Regions from separate parts of the Homo sapiens genome. Here all the other regions are linked to region 4. The links are contacts of gene promoters, found by promoter capture Hi-C in blood cells and fetal thymus (Javierre and others, 2016). All regions are on one chromosome and are shown on one strand. Each heading gives the region's core, a stretch centred on a gene start or on the middle of the fragment in contact. The rest is flanking DNA. Distances are from core to core; before and after follow the strand shown.

Region 1 (4,665 bases), core at 444-2,943, 200 kb before region 4:
TTATTATTTTGATAATCTATCAACTCACTCTATCTATCACTGATCTCACTCTATCAACCAGGCTGGAGCACAATGGTGCGATCTCAGCTCACTGCAACCTCTACCTCCCAGGCTCAAGAGATCCTCCCACCTCAGCCTCCCGAGTAGCTGGGACTACAGGTATGCACCACCATGATTTGCTAATTTTTGCATTTTTTGCAGAAACGGAGTTTTGTCATGTTGTCCAGGTCAGTCTTACATTCATGGGCTCAAGGCGATCTGCCTGCCTCAGCCTCCCAAAGTTCTAGGATTACAAGCATGAGCCACCGTGCCCAGCTGGGGATCTTGTTTGTCTTGTCTGTCACTATATCCCCAGCAGCTAGCCAACGCTTCCTGTTTATTAGGTGTTTAACAGATTTTTGAATAAACAAGTCAACTGGGTCTGTCCAACTCCAAAACCCATCAGGCTCTCTGCTTCTTCTCATAGGGCCTCCCAAACTTTCAAGTATTGAACTCTTTTTGTTTGTTTGTTTGTTTTTTTGGGATGGAGTCTCGCTCTGTCACCCAGGCTGGAGTGCAGTGGTGTGATCTCGGCTCACTGCAACCTCTGCCTCCCAGGTTCATGCAACTCTCCCGCCTCAGCCTCCCGAGTAGCTGGGATTACAGGTGTGCACCACCATACCCAGCTAATTTTTGTTATTATTATTTTTTTTTTAGTAGAGATGGGGTTCCACCATGTTGGCCAGGCTGGTCTCGAACTCTTGACCTCAAGTGATCCGCCCGCCTCAGCCTCCCAAAGTGTTGGGATTACAGGCGTGAGACACCACACCTGACTTGTTTGTTTTTTATAAACAGAGGGTCTTGCCATGTTGCCCAGGGTGGTCTTGAACTCCTGGGCTCCAGTGATCCTCCCAAACGCCTGTAATTTCAGCCTCCCAAATGGCTGAGATTACAGGCATGAGCCACTGCACCTAGCCTGAGCTTCTTTACTATTATAGCATAACAAATATTTAAACAAGAAGGAAAATGACGAGTTTGAGATGAACTTACTGCACTAGCGTTTCCTCCGACTTGCATGCATCGCAACTGAAACCATGACCAGTTGGAATCCAACTCTGTAGATCTAAATGGAAAGAATATTACTAACTGTTAATATTTTTTATCCCCAGGAGCAAAATCAGTGAGCTTTTGAGAACAAGGTTTCCTTAGGCTTTAGGATCCTAAAGAATTCTAAGTTTGTGTCAACAAGGACCCACACTTTTGGGATGCTAGGACTCCAGAGTGGATGATGGTTGGCGTGAGCAACCCCTGGCTCCTCTCGTCCTTCCTGGAATGCAGGGCACAGGGACATGACAAGTGTCAGCGGGCTGCTGGAACGACACCAACTCTTTGCCTCCCATCCTTGGTTGGATATGATTTGAAATTTGGTAATGTGTCTCTACTTGAAACAGATGCACTGTTTGGATGTTTTCAGGTCGGTGATCTACTTGTCCAGTTTGATCGCTACCAGAAGCTTGGAGGATGCTCATTCTCTTATCACAAGGTAGAAGAGACCTACCCAACATCACGACCAGCAGAGAGAGGAAAAAACACAAGATTTCATGCTCCTGAAGTGAAAGCTACAAGCACTTCCTGCCCCTTCCACACCTTATGCCTAACTTCTCTCCACTGTAAGATCAAATCTGAAACAAGTAAAGGCAGTGAGTATAGCCTCAACAATGCACATTCCCCAAGGGGTCGACGGTAAAGCAACAATGTTAGAATCTTTATACTGAATCCACAGAAATGAGCAAAAAGCAGAGGTTGTTATTCAGTAATAGCTTGCCCTACACTAACTGTAAAGGAATGTGGATATTTTAGAATGAGTATAGGCAGAATACCTTTTACAAAATGGGCAAGGAAGAAAGAAAAGAAAAGAAGCTTTAGGTCCACCAAAACTTTCCTTTGTGCTGCCCTTATATTTACTAATTTCTTTTTTTTTTTTTTTTGAGACAGGGTCTCACTCCATCACCCAGGAATGGAGTGGTGTGATCACAGCTCATTGCAGCCTCAACCAGGATTGCTCAAGCAATCCTCCTGTCTCAACCTCCCAAGTAGATGGTAGCTACCATGCCGGGCTTTTTTTTTTTTTTTTTTTTTGAGACGGAGTTGCCCCGGCTGGAGTGCAATGGTGCGATCTTGACTCACCGCAACCTCTGCCTCCTGGGTTCAAGTGATTCTCCTGCCTCAGCCTCCTGGGTAGCTGGGATAACAGGCAGGTGTCACTACGCCCGGCTAATTTTTGTATTTTTAGCAGAGACAGGGTTTCTTCATGTTGGTCAGGTTGGTCTCAAACTCCCGACCTTAGGTGATCCACCCACCTTGGCCTCCCAAAGTACTGTGATTACAGGCATGAGCCACCGTGCCTGGCCTTTTTTTTTTTTTTTTTTTTTTAAATAGAGATAGGGTCTTGTTATGTTGCCCAAGATGGTCTAGAACTCCTGGGCTCAGGCAATCCTCCCACCTCAGCCTCTCAGTGTTGGGATTACAGGTGTGAGCCACCATGCCCAGTGAACCATACCTTTTTTTTTTTGAGACACAGCCTCGTTCTGTTGCCCAGGCTAGAGTGCAGTGAGGCGATCTCAGCTCATGGTAATCTCTGCCTTCTGGATTCAAGCAATTCTTGTGCCCCAGCCTCCAGAGGTAGCTGGGATTAGAGGCGTGCGGAACCACACCTGGCTAATTTTCGTAATTTTAGTAGAGACGGGGTTTTGCCATGTTCGCCAGGCTAGTCTCGAACTCCTGGCCTCAAGCAATCCCCTCATCTCAGCCTCCCAAAGTGCATACCATTATTAATCTAGAGTTTTACTTATAGACAATCTCAGTAATTTCCCAGCCGCCCTTTGTTTATAACTTGTTTGATTACCTCTATAAGGTCATAAAAAGCGTTGCCTTTCTACGCCAACATCATAAAAAGGTTCTCCCCAGTGTCCACCGAGCAGGAGCCCAGATTCTGCCCTGGTCATCATCAACATGTTCTAGGGCTCACTATGTGCCAGGCTGTATGGGGCTCTCTTGCTCGCTCCTGCCAACACCCTGTACGGCAGGTCCTAGTATTCTCACCCTCACTTTCAAGAGAAGGAAAGCAAGACATTCAGAGGTAAGGAACACACCCAAGGCCAGGAAAGGACAGCTCAGATTTGCCTCCCCCCGACCCCCCAACCACATCCCCGCTCCTGCATCCTCAGCCTCGGTCCTCACCTCTTCCTGATGCTGTCTCCTGCTCTGCCCAGGCTGAGTCAGCCTCCCCACATGCCTCACCCCTCCAGGGCCTCAGGAGTGAACTTTTAGCTCCCAGTGTGGCAGCTAAAGCGCTCCACAATATGACACAGATCCTCTCCTTTCACCCTTACTTCTCTTTATTTTCCTATGCATACAAAAAGTCGCTACAAAGCATTTCGCTTTTTCCTGCTTTTATATCTGAAGGTCCGAGTGCTGACCTCAATTTTCCCTCCCTTGTCTCCATTATCTTTTTTTGTTGTCGTAGAGATGAGGTCTCACTATGTTGCCCAGGTTGGTCTTAAACTCCTGGGCTCAAGCTATCCTCCCACCCCGGCCTCCCAAGTGCTGGGATTACAGGCGCAAGCCACCATGCCCGGCCTTGTCTCCATTATCAAAACCTCACCAAACCTTCCAAGTTCATTGCAAATGTTACCTCTTTTAAACTTTGCCTTATTTTCCAACCAGAAGTGGGCACAGGACTTAGTTTCCATCTCTCATGCATAACTTTGCAGTCTATCTTCTTATTTACGTTGTATTTAAGCCTGTCCCTAACCCCAGGCCAACAAGATCGATGCAGGGATCCCATTCACCTTTAATAAGCTCATGAAATACGTAACGGCAAACTTGAGAAAAAACAGAGCTAGAGGGGAGGAGCAGCCTGAAACATGGAGATCCCAGCAATGGAGGTGAAAAGGGGCAGAGGTCAGTTCAATCTGGTCCACTCTGGGAGCAGTCAGCAACCAATGCAGTTTGCCCTCTCCATATACTCTTAATCTGCCTTCCCCCCTTTGCTTGGCAAAAGCCATAACTTATAAATTATTTTTCCTCTGTAAATTTGTTGACTTGAAATTCTAGTTAAAGAAAAAAAACTCCAGTTAAATATGCACACCACCCATGCCACACAGGAAGCAGTGCATGTGTGTGTGTCTGGCAGTGGGAGGGGAAGAAGAGGGGAAAAGTATTCTAGAGGAGAGACTTTATATATTTTGGGGCTGCTTGGATTTTTTCCCAATTAGCTAGTGGTTTTTTTTGTTTCTTTTTTTGGTGGTGGTTGTTGTTGTTTTTTGAGTCAGGGTCTTTGTTCTGTCACCCAGACTGAAGTGAAGTGGTGAGATCATAGCTCACTGCAGCCTCAAACTCCCATGCTCGGCTAGGTGCTGTGGCTCATGCCTGTAAACCCAGCACTTTGGGAAGCTGAGGTGGGTGGATCACATGAGGTCAGGAGTTCAAGACCAGCCTGGCCAACATGGTGAAACCCCGTCTCTAGTAAAAATACAAAAATTAGCTGGGTGTGGTGGCACACACCTGTAATCCCAGCTACTTCGGAGGCTGAAGCAGGAGAATTGCTTGAACCCGGGAGGCGGAGGTTGCAGTGAGCTGAGATCATGCCATTGCACTCCAGCCGAGGGGATAGAGTGAGACTCT
Region 2 (4,461 bases), core at 1,190-3,689, 210 kb before region 4:
ATGAAAATAGTTACTAATTCTGTGTTTTTATTTGTATTGTTTTTACTGTTGTATTCTTACTTTTTATTTTTTTTTACTTTTTTTGAGACAGGCTCTCATGCTGTTGACCAAGCTGGAGTACAGTGGCACAATCTCAGCTCACTGCAACCTCTGCCTCCTGGGGTAAAGCGATCCTCCCACCTTAGTATCCCGAGTAGCTGGGACTACAGGCACGGGCCACCAAATCCGGCTACTTTTTGTATTTTTTGAAGAGATGGGATTTCACCATTTTGCCCAGGCTGGTCTTGAACTCCGGGGCTCAAGTGATCCACCTGCCTCGGCCTCCCAAAGTGCTGGGATTACAGGCGTGAGTCACTACGCCTGGCCTATTGTTTTTTTTTCCCCCCCAAATAATTTTGATCTGCAATTGGTTGAATCCATGGATGCAGAACCCCTGGATACAGAGGGCTGAGGAAAGTAAAGCTCATATAAGTTAAGGAATGTGGCCAAGGTCACACAGCCAATACATGGCAAGGCCAGGATTCAAACCCTGCACCTGCCTCCAGAGCTGGTGCTCCGCAATGCTTCGCTGTATCTGAAAACTCACCAGACAACCACCCTCTAAGCCTCACAAGATGTCATTGCTTATTGATCTACACAAGCAGGAGACAAATTCCCAGGGGACCTTTGTTAATTTTTTTCAGAATTTTGTCATAGACAGAAAAAATGTTAAATAATCATTCTAGAAAAAATTCAATAAGTATAACATTAATCTCTTTGACATTAATCTCTTTGAACAAAACATAGACTCCTTATATCAAAGCTACATTTATTACAAGATGGTTCAAAAGAATAAAACTAAAATGACGAAGCGGCTTTTTAGTTTTAAAGCTTAACTACCAGATTTTTATATATAAAGTACATAATACTCACGCCTTTTTTAGCTTGATTTGGTTTCTTTTTTATGATAGAGGATACCTCTGCCAAAAAATAAAAATTAAAAAGTAAGACCAATAGAAATAATTTTTCTTTTTTAGTGTGTCTTTTAAAATTCTAAGATACTGCACTTTATTATTTAAGAGATGATAACATTTTCCACTTTAGTTTCTCATCCAGAAGACTCAAGTTGATAAGCATATTTTGGATTAACAGAACTTTGTCAAAATGGTGTCCTCAGTATTTCCACGCAGTCTCCAAACTCAGAGAAAATGTATTTTTTTTTTTAACAGCACACTGAAGAGAAATAGAGCCTGAGCTTGCCCCTCTCAGTACTTTCTTCAGGAGCATTTAAAAAATATATTACAACAACTTTTTTTTTTTTTTTGAGACAGGGTCTCGCTCTGTCACCTTAGCTGAGTGCAGTGGCATTACCTCCCAGATCAAGGGAGCCTTCCACTTCAGCCTCCTGAGTAGTTGGGATCACAGGTGCGCACCACCACATCTGGCTATTTTTTTTTTTTTTTTTTTTTTTTTTTAGAGATGGGTGTCTTGCTATGTTGCCCAGACTGGTCTTGGACTCCTGGGCTCAAGTGATGCTCCTGCCTCAGCCTCTCAAAGTGCTGAAATTATGAGTATGAGCCACCATGCCACAACTCTTTTATCAAGTGCTACTCTTCAAAAACTTTAAAACACTTAAAAATCTAACAATTTTTTAGAGATGGTCTCACTCCATTACCTAGGCTGGAGTGTAGTAGTGTGATCAGAGCTCACTGCAGCATTGAACTCCTGTATTCAAGTGATCCTCTCGTCTCAGCCTCCCTAGTAGCTGGGACTACAGGCATATGCCACCATGCCTGGTTTTCTTTCTTTTTTTTTTTTTTGTAGACATCAGGGGAGCTCACTATGTTGCCCAGTCTGGTCTTGAACTCCTGGCCTCAAGTGATCCTCCTGCCTTGGCTTTCTAAAGTGCTGGGATTACAGGTATGAACTATCATGCCCAGCCCAAAAACTTTAAAAATCATTATAATTTTCCATTTTTATTTTAGATTCAGGGAGTACACGTGCAGTTTTGTTACAAGGGTATATTGCGTGGTGCTGAGGTTTGGGCTTCTCTTGATCCCATCACCCAGACAGTGAGCACAGTATCCAACAGGAAGTGTTTCAGCTCTTGTTCCCCTCTCTCCCTCCCTCCTTTTGGAGTCCTCAGTGTCTACTCTTCCCATCTTTATGTTCGTATGAACCCAAGATTTAGCCCCCACTTATAAGTGAAAACATGTGATATTTGGTTTTGTTTCTGCATTAGTTTGTTTACGATAATGGCCTCCAGCCATGTTGCTGCAAAGGACATGACTGTTCTTTTTTACGGCTGCATAAAACTTATTTGAAAATATAAAGTTCGCAGCCTGGACAACATAGGGAGACTCCATCTCCACAAACAAACAAACAAAAAACATTAGTCCAGTGTGATGGCGTGCGCCTGTGGTCCCAGCTACTTGGGAGGCTGAGGTAGGAGAATCTCTTGGGCCAGGCTGCAGTGAACTGTGATTGCACCCACTGCACTCCAGCATGGGCAATAAAGCGAGACTCTAGCTCAAAAAAGTAATAACAATAATAAAAATAAAGTTAGCTAGGCATTATGTATACAACTAAAGCAGCCAGTGACGTGCTTTTTCACCTTGGCTTATATATAGATTTTATCATATTAGCCAAAATAAATATAAAGCATCCTCGGCCAGGCATGGTGGCTCATGCCTGTAATCCCAGCACTTTGGGAGGCCAAGGCGGGCAGATCACCTGAGGTCAGGAGTTTGAGAACAGCCTGGACAATATGGTGAAACCCCGTCTCCACTAAAAATACAAAAAGTTTGCTGGGCATGGTGGCACACACCTGTAATCCCAGCTACTTGGGAGGCTGAGGCACGAGAATCGCTTGAACCCAGGAGGCACCGGGAGGCAGAGGTTGCAGTGAGCTGAGATCGTGCCAGTGTACTCCAGCCTGGGTGACAGAGTGAGACTCTGTCTCCAAAAAAAAAAAAAAAAGAAACATAAAGCATTCTCTTATTTTAATAACAATACTTTCTAAATTGCACAAAAATACTTTTAGAGAAAGTTTCTTAAAAATCATTTTCTGAGTACATTTTACTTATAGGTTATATATTGTCTTTAGAATTATGTCTAAGAAACCCAGCAAAATTAAAGTCTTAATTTTTTCATATAAAGATAAGAATGTGCTTTGATAGGAAAAGATAGCATAAAGCCAGAAACAGCAAAAGATAACAATCTTTAGCCGTGAGTAGAGAATAACGTCATTACATTTCAAGTGTGAAAAAGATGCTTGTGGGAGTTTTCCTTTTCATTACTTTCTTTCAGATTTGTATTGTAGTAGTCACATAACCTGCTCCCAAACTCTGACGAGTCTAAAACATGATGAAAATGTCAGGAGCATTTCTAACAGTTTAGTTATTTTTCACCAAAGCAGCTGCTTTCCAACTAATGCAATGGAATATATAACAATTACAAATTATAATTCCTTGATAATGAAAAATTTAAGATTAAGTTCACCTATAATAAAATCAGAAAGAGAAGAAAATGAGTTCTTGAGTAAAAAGGAATGGTGTAGATGTTCTGACCACTGCTTATTTCCGTAAGGTGAGCCAGCCCAACATAAACCCACGAATCAAAACCATCAGCAGCCATATTGGCTAAATGTGCACATTGCTGCTTTTTTTTTTTTTTGAGACAAGGTATCACTCTGTCACCCAGGGCAGAGTGCAGTGGTGTGATCATGGCTCACTGCAGCCTCAACCTCCCAGGCTCAAGTGATCCTCCTGCCTCAGTCTCCCAAGTAGCTGGGACTACAGATGTGTGCCACCACACTCAGGTAATTTTTGTTGTTGTTGTTGTTGTTGTTGTTGTTTTGTAGAGCTAAGGTTTCGCTGTGTTGCCCAAGCTGGTCTCGAACTCCTGGGCTCAAGCGATCTGACCACCTCGGCTTCATAAAGCGTTAGGATTACAGGTGTGAGCCACTGCCCCCAGCCACAATGCTGCATTTTATATTATCAAGCTGGTTAAAATGTAGCATCTTTGTTGGAAGCTTGAGAGATGAATAAAAAACATATATATATAGTATCTTTTGTTTAATAAAATCTTATTAACAGATTCGGTCATGATTATATTACTCCGTCAGGTGAGATGCCCAGGCCAAATGCAAGAGGATTTATTTTTTTCTTAATGAGTCATACACTTTAAATCAGAATGTAGGATTTTAAGCATATTACCTAAAGTAGCCTTTGTTGGTACATTAAGACCTTCCACACTTGGTCCTTGCTCTTGTCCACCTGAAAATTCAAAACATTGATATTAGCGCAGAAAATATACTCAGCTAACTTGCTTTTGAATATATAATAATTCAACTTGCTCAGTGCTACATCTTATCCAATTTTGTCAATGATCACCTACCTTTTTAGCTGTATATTCTATTTTAACGTTATAAGAATTTTGACTTAAAAGTCCATTAAAGTAGAAGTTTATTTTTAATCCAAT
Region 3 (4,502 bases), core at 1,769-4,268, 240 kb before region 4:
GATAGATATGTATATCTTTTTAATCTACGTATAGAAAAATATCCTTAGAAATCTAGAGCTAAAAATATACCAAAATATTAACAGAGGTTATCCCTGTGATGTGGCATTACAGATAATTTCAGTTTTCTTCTTAATACTTCTCTGTTCCAATCTAGGAAAAAAACTGGACAATGGTCATGACAATTCCTCTAACAATTCCCCTAGAGTCATCCGTTAGAAAATATTAAATATAAAATTATAATTTCTGGTTTTCATAATGTTCTGGGTTATAGTGTAGCAAACATATCGATCCAATAATATATAATTGAATTTTCCAGCAGTTGAAGATTGAAGCAGGTCTCATTTTCAAACTGCTGAACCTACCGTCATAGCCAGTGAGCACTGCCCCATTCCACTGACCTGAATTGAAGTCACGACTCCATTAGCAAAGACGGAGAGTTTTCCAGCAACCGATCTCACTCCCTGCTTGAACTGCGCCATGTCGGGGGCGTTGGGCAGCACACTGGACAGGCTGTAGTTCCCTGCACACACACAGCAGACACTGTCTCATCACTGCCCTGGCCACAGCTGCGGCAAACCCAGTACCCAGAGTGCTCAACGGCTCCAGAGAACCCGGATCTCTCCCCTCCTGCTGCCTCACAAGGGGCCCAACAGTGGGATGGAGACTCGGGCTGAAGTGGCAGCCCTGCCATGATCCACATGAGAGAATCCACACGACAGAAAATGTAGTATGGGGGACTTAACACCACTATGAGTTCAAATCCTGGCACTGTCACTTCTAGGCTGTGTGCCTCTAGAGAAGTTCCTTGCTCTCTCTGGGCCCATTTCCTCAAGGTGCTTAACATAGCCCTGGCAGGTAAGTACCCAGCAAAAGGCAGATGGGCCAACACGGATGGCCTGTTTCTCATCACCTCCTCCCTCTTTTGGTAACAGTACTCCTCCCTTCCTCCAGGAACCACCTCTCCCTTCTACCCTGTCCACAGGCATGGGCACATGACCCAGGCCTGACCAATCAGAGCCTTCCCAGGGATTCATGTATCCTCAAATGAGAAGAGCCATTTGCTTGCTCTGGGGTTATTGGCAGGGACAAAGCAAAGCAGCAGCCATCTGTGACTACGACTGCCCCTCCCACTCGCTTGGGGTATGGAGGAAGCTTGTTACCTCCCCCAAGGAGGTGAGCCAAATAGATGCATCACTGATGCTGTCTGACTGTGACTTAGAAGCCAAGCTCCACTGCCAGTCTTCCCAGGTACAGAAGTTCACACTTCCACCCTCTTTGCTAGGGCCGGTGTTAGTGGCCCTAAGTTTTGTTAGTTGTTAGTTTTGTTAAGTGTTAGTTGCTTAAGTTTTGGTTGCCCTGATGTAAACATCACCATAATTGCTACCAATCTGGGTGAAGTTCATCAGGGTTATCACACATCAAGGAGGTCTGACCACACTCCTAGAGCTGACAATCAGGGGTTCATAAACTTCTGTGTCACAATTGTAATAAGACGCTGGAGGGGCTCAGTGAGCTCAACACAAACCCTGCAGGTCCTCAGGAGTAGCCACGCCCAGCTACTCCCTAAGCCCCACATGACACCACCTGCTCCTTACAAAACAGAAACCCACCAGACGCAGTGGCTCACGCCTGTAATCCCAGCACTCTGGGAGGCTGAGGTGGGAGGATCACTTGAGGTCAGGAGTTCAAGACCAGCCTGGCCAACATGGTGAAACCCCATCTCTACTAAAAATACAAAAAATTAGCTGGGCATGGTGGCACACACCTGTAACCCTAGCTACTTGGGAGGCTGAGGCAGGAGAATCACTTGAACCTGGGAGGTGGAGGTTGCAGTGAGCCAAGACTGTGCCACCCCACTCCAGCCTGGGTGACAGAGCGAGACCCCATCTCAAAAACAAAAACAGAAAGCCTTGGTCAAGTCCCTCTCTGAGAATAAAACAGAACTGACAAGTTACCCTGCAACGTGTCCCTTGGAAGAGACACTGCATTTGCCCCCAGCACTGTTCCCATGCCCACCACAGATGCAGGTCCTCCCATCTCCACCTCCAGCTGACTGTCTAAAATCTTGTAGGCCTTCACCAATGACAGAGTGTAATTCCAACACAGTGATGGGACTGGGGTGCTGTGTCTCCTCTGAGGGCTGCCTGGGCAGGCTGGAGGGGCCGGGTGGCCATGGTCAAAGACAGCCCTAGTGTGCTCAGGTTACACAATGAGCTCCAGGAAATGACAGTTCCAGCCACCTGCTCAGGAAGAGCGTCCTTGACCCAGGGAATCTCTCCTCCCTATCTTTTCCCAGAACACCCACAGTGTGTACTGAGGACACAGCTACAGACCTGCTTTTCCACAGCTCACCACCTACTGGGGAAAGCAGACAATTAACTGATAACATCACTAAAGTGTGACCTGTGTCATCTGGAGGGGACACAGAGCAAACTCAGGTAGACAGCTGGGAGGTGGCTGCAGGGGTCCAGGTGCATGGGGCGGTGCCTGAGCATGAGGAGGCGGCAGTGGGGATCAGGAGGGAACGGGCTGAGCGTCCTCAGGAGGCAGGTGTCAAGAGGCACACTGACTGACTGGCCTAGGCAGGCTGAGAGGCAGGCGGATTAAGGATGTTTCCCAGGTTTCTGCTTGGGCAGCCAGGAAGAAGACAGCTGCTCCCCTCTCTGAGACAGAGGGGACACTGAGCTACACAGTGGTCTGTGGTTGGGGCAAATGCCCTGGATGGGTCAGGACAGGCCAGGTGACTCTGAGCTAACAACCACCCACAACTGATGTTTGCTGTGCCCAGTGCAGGTGGGCAGGGGGTTCTGTGCATCACAGTCACTTGCGGTCCAAGCCCATGGGGCCACCTCTTAATTCCAGCTTCCTTGCCTACTATGACAGGGAAAGAAACATGGCAACATGCGCACAGCTCTTAAGGCTTGTGCTGGAGGCGGAACACATCGCCCCTGCAGCCTGGCACTGGCCATGGGACATGGGAGGTAGGGGGAGGCGTGTTCCAGCCTATGTTGGCCGGTGGGCAGGTGCTCAGACTCAGCAAGCTCCTTGGGGTCATTCATCACCCCTCCACCCATTCATCCTCAAACACCTGCAGAGGGCTTCCTCTGCCAGGCTGTCAGGCGCCAAGGGCACAGAAATGAGAACTGACAGTCCACTGGGGGAGACGGTCTTCGCATGGTCTTGCCCTCAGTGTAAGGCACAAGAGTGGTGCAAGGGGGCCTAACCAGGCCCCCAGGGTAAATACGGGTTGCGGGGCTGTCTGGGGGAATGGGGAAGAAGAGCATTCTGGGCTGGGGGCTCCACAGGCTCAACACAGCTGGAGTGAGCCACAACAGTGAATCACGAGAAATGAGGCTGGAAAGGCCAGTGGGAACCATGGTCCTGGAGGTGGGCATTGGGTGGGGAGCTGTGCTTCAAGCTGAGGGCAGGATTTTCAGCACAGATGACTGTGTTCTGAAAGATCCCTGTGGGAAGAGTGAGGAGAGGGGTGAGCAGCAGCCAAGACTGGAGGCAGGAGGACCAAGCAGCGGGTTGTGGCCACGTTTCAGGTCTGGAGTCACCCAGGAGAGATTCTGATCATATGGGTCTATGGTGTGACGTGGGAGGTGGAAGTTTCCAGGACAACTCCCAGGCTCCTCAAAATAACAATTTTTTTTTTTTTTTGAGACAGAGTCTCGCTGTGTCACCCAGACTGGAGTGTAGTGGCGCGATCTTAGCTCACTGCAAGCTCCGCCTCCCAGGTTCACGCCATTCTCCTGCCTCAGCCTCTGGAGTAGCTGGGACTACAGGTGCCCGCCACCACGCCCAGATAATTTTTTTTTTTTTGTATTTTTTAGTAGAGATGGGGTTTCACCGTGTTAGCCAGGATGGTCTCAATCTCCTGACCTTGTGATCCACCCGCCTCAGCCTCCCAAAGTGCTGGGATTACAGGCGAGAGCCACCGCGCCTGGCCCAAAATAAGAATTTTTTTTTTTTTTTTGAGATGGAGTCTTGCTCTGTTGCCCAGGCTGGAGTGCAGTGGTGCGATCTCGGCTCACTGCAAGCTCCACCTCCCAGGTTCACGCCATTCTCCTGCCTCAGCCTCCCGAGTTGCTGGGACTACAGGCGCCCACCACCATGCCTGGCTAATTTTTTGTATTTTTAGTAGAGATGTGGTTTCACCATGTTAGCCAGGATGGTCTCGATCTCCTGACCCGTGATCTGCCCGCCTCGGCCTCCCAAAGTGCTGGGATTACAGGCGTGAGCCACCACACCTGGCCCAAAATAAGAATTTTTAATAGAATACCACGTATTAATTTCTCTGCTTCATGCAGACAAATGAAGAGAAAAAGTATTTCCAAGATTATAAGAACAAGTTTGGGCATTGTTTGTTTGAGACAGGGACTCCCTCTGTTGCCCGGGCTGGAGTACAGTGGTGTGATCACAGCTGACTGCAGCCTCAATCTTTTGGGTTCAAGTGATCCTCCTGCCTTAGCCTCCGAGTAATTGGAACTATAGGCAT
Region 4 (4,905 bases), core at 1,697-4,196:
CACCCTGAAGAACCACTGTGTGGAGGGGAAATGGCCCCCTGTGAGGAAAGTCCTAGCAGCTGGTGGAGCGCAACCAGATGCGGGTCCAGACTGATGGGGTCTCCATGGCAGCCCAGGTGGGAGGCGGAGGAGGAGAAGGGAGACAGTGAGAAGGTTGTCACCAGGCCCTCACTAATACCCGGGGAGCAGCCCGTGTGCAAAGGAGGTGAAGGATGGTGGTTTTCTTTTGTTTGAGATGGAGTCTTGCTCAGTTGTCCAGGCTGGAGTGCAATGGTGCGATCTCGGCTCACTGCAACCTCCGCCTCCTGGGTTCAAGTGATTCTTCCGCCTCAGCCTCCCAAGTAGGTGGGATTACAGGCATGAACCACCAAGCCCAGCTAATGTTTGTATTTTTAGTAGAGACGGGGTTTCACCTTGTTGGCCAGGCTGGTCTCAAACTCCTGACCTCAGGTGATCCACCCACCTCAGCCTCCCAAAGTGCTGGGACTACAGGCGTGAGCTACTGTGCCCAGTCGAGGATGGGTTTATATTGGGAAAACCAAGCCTATCAAACTTGGTGAAAACGACCACAGGATGCAACCCTCTGGCCTGGGACCCACCCCATCAAGTGTGTGGGGGCTGACAAGAAAACAGCAACGGCTCCCGGACAGCTCCCAGCAGGGCTCACTGCTTAGCCCCAGCCTAGCGCTGAATGGGGCTGTTCCTGGCCCGACAGCCTCCCGAGGCCTGCTGCCAACACCGCACCCTTCCCACCCGTGTCCTGGAAGTGCTCAGAGGAAACATCTGCCCAGAACATGACATCACTAAATCATTAATGAGACAGTCACTATATGACATAAATCCACTTAGCAGAGCCTCACTCTCACCTAGCAACTGGGTCACCAGCAAACTAACCACTTGGTGTGACTCTTCCATTAGGACTGCGTGGCCCCGGAGCCTCAGAGGCCAACGTTCCCAACCAGGGACTCCACCCTTCTCCCAGAGGGAGGCAAAAACAACACAATGTAACTGAGAACCGGGTTGTAAAAACCGGTGGAAGAGCTGGGAACAGTTAACGGGGTGTCTTTCACTTCTGCGTGTAGGAGCCGAGGTGGAGCCGCCAGCTGTGCAGAGGACACCCCCTCCTGGGAGGTAAGAGGGCTCGCCAGAGCCAGCAAGGCGTGCGGGCAGGGTCCCTGTGCGGTGGTACTGGTTGTTTCTGAGGCAAACAGAACTCCCCCCCTTTTTTTTTTTGAGACGGAGTTTCGCTCTTATTGCCCAGGCTTGAGTGTAATGGCGCCATCTCGGCTCTCCGCAACCTCCGCCTCCTGGGTTCAAGCGATTCTCCTGCCTCAGCCTCCAGGCTAATTTTTGTATTTTTAGTAGAGATGAGGTTTCACCATGTTGGCCAAGCTGGTCTCGAACTCCTGACCTCAGATGATCCACCCTCCTCGGCCTCCCAAAGTGCTGGGATTACAGGCATGAGCCACTGCGCCCGGCCACAGAACTCCCCATTTTATACAGTGGGAAACAAAGGTGCAACGACCCCAGGGACAGGCTTGGGAAACAGCTAATAAACAGCAGAGCCAGGCCACAAGGCCAAGTCTGACTCGGGGATCTCCATCCCACACCCGCCATCAACAGCAAACACATTAAAACTAAACCCCACGGCTGGGCGCAGTGGCTCACACCTGTATTCCCAGCACTCTGGAAGGCTGAGGCAGGCGGATCACCTAAGGCTGGGAGTTTGAGACCAGCCTAGCCAACATGGTGAAGCCCCATCTCTACTAAAAATACAAAAATTAGCCGGGCATGGTGGTGTACACCTGTAATCCCAGCTACTTGGGAAGCTGAGGCACGAGAATCACTTCAACCCGGGAGGCAGAGATTGCAGTGAGCTGAGGTTGCGCCACTGCACTCCAGCCTGCTGGGCGACAGAGCGAGACTCTGTCTCAAAAACAAAACAAAACAAAACAAAACTTAAACACCAGGGAACACACACAACACACATACCAATAAGATCACGAAGAAGGAATGGCTGAAAAGCCCACCAATTGTAGTTTATTTGGAGTCCAGCCAAGTACCATTTGTGTTGAAAAGACCTATTTTTCCCTAATTGGCAGTGAAACATCATTAAATATATGTACTCATATACACACACACAATATGGCATGTACACTTGACACACGTCCATGCATGGGCACTGAGAGAGCCTGGGCAAGTCAGTTAAGACCCTTATCTGAAGGACATACCCTTGGTGCCATTTGGGAGAACAAACTCCTGTTACTAGCATTGCAACAAAAACAGGTGGCAAGCTTTAAAGATAAACTCAAGACAGCGAGTGAAACTTCAGCAAATACGTGTTAATACGACCATGAGTAAAAGGCCCTTCCTGGCCGGGCGCAGTGGCTCACGCCTGTAATTTCAGCACTTTGGGAGGCGGAGGCGGGAGGATCACCTGAGGTCAGGAGTTCGAGACCAGCCTGGCCAACATGGTGAAACCCCGTCTCCACTAAAAATACAAAAATTAGTTGGGCGTGGTGGCAGGCGCCTGTAAGCCCACCTCTTTGGGAGGCTGAGCCATGAGAATCGCCTGAACCCAGGAGGTGGAGGTTGCAGTGAGCCTAGATTGTGCCATTGCACTCCAGCCTGGGTGTCAAGAGTGAAACTCCACCTCAAAAAAAAAAAAAAAAAAAAAGACCCTTCCTAAGAACAGCACTGTAACTCATGAGTTATTACTCAAATGCATCTGTCCATCTACCCACCAACTCAGGTCCTCTCCATACACTCCTGTAAGTCACCGGGCTACCGGGAGACTGCATGGGAACAACCACGCTCGCGCAGCCTGTCCCGCAGCCATCGCTCCTCCCACAGCTCCTGGCTGCCCACGGCGCTTCCCTGTAGCAAACCCAGCTGCTGACGTCATAAAAGGCACACAGCCGGACCTGTCTGTGCTCATCTAGTTCCATTTACAACAGACTCATCCACAAAACCGAAGTGGTAGAAACAGGTCTTTTTGAAGCCAGGCGTGGTGGCTCATGCCTGTAATCCCAACACTTTGGGAAGCTTAGGCAGGAGTATCGCTTGAGCCCAGGAGTTCGAGAACAGCCTGGCCAACATGGTGAAACTCTGTCTCTACAAAAAAAACTTTAAAAAGTAGCTGGGGGTGGTGGTGTGTGCCTGTGTGGTCCCAGTTACTCGGGAGGCTGAGGTGAGCGGATCACTTGAGCCCAGGAAGTTGAGCCACAATGGCACCACGGCACTCCAGCCTGGGTGACAGGGCGAGATCCTGTCTGAAAAGAAAAAAAAAAAGAAAAGAGAAGAAAAGAAAAGAAAACAGGTCTTCCTGGGAGCACCTAGACAAAGGCCTTTGTAAAGATAAATTACCGAGGAATATTTCTAGTTGCCTGTTTTCTTCAAAATCACAGTCAAGTAAGCTGGGCGTGGTGGCTCACCTCTGTAATCCCAGCATTTTGGGAGGCCGAGGTGGGCAGATCACCTGAGGTCAGGAGTTTGAGACCAGCCTGCCCAACATGGTCAAAACCCCATCTCTACTAAAAATACAAAAATTAGCCAGGTGTGGTGGCACACGCCTGTAATCCCAGCTACTTGGGAGCCTGAGGTGGGAGAAATACTACCCAGGAGGCAGAGGTTGCAGTGAGCCAAGATTGTGCCAGTGCACTCCAGCCTGGGCGACAGAGCAAAACTCTGTCTCGGGAAAAAAAAAAAAAATCGCAGTCAAGTAAAAAGAAACGCAACTAAAAGAGCCGTCAGTTAAATACATTCCTCTCTCGTGGCAGGACGAGTCTATAAGATTTGTTTTGTTTTTAATTTAGTGTAAAGTTTTTTTAATGTTTAAACCTTGTGACACATCAAATTACATGCTTGAAGCTGTTACTTTCTGTCAAAAAAGTGAGTTTTTAATATGAAAATTCTGCTTAGGTTAAAAATTAAAAAAAAAAGAGCGAGTTTTATACATCCGCATGAATTGTTTCCTTTAGCACTAGTCAAACAGACTCCATAACCTTCCAAAGAAGTGCCTTCGTTTATTTACAGGGCTTAGGAAAGGAAAAAAGCTCTACAAAAGGGAAATTTCAAAATAGGGCTTCAGCAGGGGCCCAGGTGGAGTGAGTAGTTTTGATAAGGTCCAGGTGGGACTCACTTCCAGGTGGTGAGGACCGCTCTCCCCGAGTCTCTCGATCGGCCTGCTCTGGGCCCCAGAGACTGACCCTGACGGCTTCTCAGCTCCCGGTCAGCCCCGTCACCCTGGGCCAATTCTTCATCATACCTGGAGACAGAAACAGCCAGGATCACGGCAGGCTCTCTTTCAAAGGCAACAGGCAGGGCCACCAGGCTGCTGTGTGGCAAATATGACATCACCCAGAGAAGCGGCCTGAGGGGGCCCCACCCTCGCGACTCCTGCTGGCTCCCGCCCACCTCCCACCTGGCTCCAGCCCACCTGCCTGCCAGGTGGCTCTCGCAGCCCAGCAAATGCTCCCCAAGGCCAGCCTGCCTATGTGTACAACCTTGTTGTTATTGTGGACAGTGGTCTCCCCTCGGAAGCTGACATTTTATACAGGTCACCAGGTCAAATATGGCAATGACTCCAAAGGCAACATGCATGAGGTGACACAGAACCAGCCCAGGGTAAGTGAGGTGAGACTGCCTGGCTGGAAACGCTTCACACAAGGCACCTGCAGGCTGGGGGGACTAACTCCATTCCAGATGGGAGTGGTACATGAGCACTGGTCAGTGGAGGCCAGGGCAGAGAGGCCCCACGGTGCACACTCAGCTAGAGACTCTGCCAGTGTGACCCACGCCACCCCTCCCCATTTTCTTTTTTTTTGAGATGGAGTTTCACTCTATCACCAAGGCTGGTATACAGTGGCGCAATCTTGGCTCACTACAACCTCCACCTCCCTGGTT

The links. The method cuts DNA at HindIII sites, captures the fragments that hold promoters and counts their contacts. A CHiCAGO score of 5 or more calls a contact.
Region 1: a contact is called between a fragment that was not itself captured here and the fragment with the promoter of TTLL1-AS1 in region 4, in 3 of 17 cell types (neutrophils, endothelial precursors and M1 macrophages). The highest score is 7.9, in neutrophils.
Region 2: a contact is called between a fragment that was not itself captured here and the fragment with the promoter of TTLL1-AS1 in region 4, in 1 of 17 cell types (neutrophils). The highest score is 10.6, in neutrophils.
Region 3: a fragment that was not itself captured here is called in contact with the fragment with the promoter of TTLL1-AS1 in region 4 in 1 of 17 cell types (neutrophils); the score reaches 6.8 in neutrophils.

Annotation. Positions count from the first base shown.
Region 1 is chr22:42,839,915-42,844,579 of GRCh38, forward strand. It overlaps ARFGAP3 (ARF GTPase activating protein 3), which reads right to left. Exons shown (of 16, transcript NM_014570.5): 3 at 1,030-1,102. Among named protein-coding and RNA genes, the nearest start is that of ARFGAP3, 15 kb to the right of the region's middle. The HindIII fragment of the contact is 407 bases long and covers 1,491-1,897 here.
Region 2 is chr22:42,822,744-42,827,204 of GRCh38, forward strand. ARFGAP3 (ARF GTPase activating protein 3) reads right to left here. Exons shown (of 16, transcript NM_014570.5): 7 at 4,197-4,256; 8 at 913-959. Among named protein-coding and RNA genes, the nearest start is that of ARFGAP3, 32 kb to the right of the region's middle. The HindIII fragment of the contact is 3,142 bases long and covers 869-4,010 here.
Region 3 is chr22:42,798,640-42,803,141 of GRCh38, forward strand. ARFGAP3 (ARF GTPase activating protein 3) reads right to left here. Exons shown (of 16, transcript NM_014570.5): 15 at 400-521. Among named protein-coding and RNA genes, the nearest start is that of ARFGAP3, 56 kb to the right of the region's middle. RefSeq lists an enhancer at 904-1,198. The HindIII fragment of the contact is 3,735 bases long and covers 1,152-4,502 here.
Region 4 is chr22:43,035,639-43,040,543 of GRCh38, forward strand. TTLL1-AS1 (TTLL1 antisense RNA 1) reads left to right here and starts at 2,947. Exons shown (of 3, transcript NR_125362.1): 1 at 2,947-4,626. TTLL1 (TTL family tubulin polyglutamylase complex subunit L1) reads right to left here. Exons shown (of 11, transcript NM_012263.5): 11 at 3,878-4,267. The coding sequence ends at 4,138. The HindIII fragment of the contact is 751 bases long and covers 2,293-3,043 here.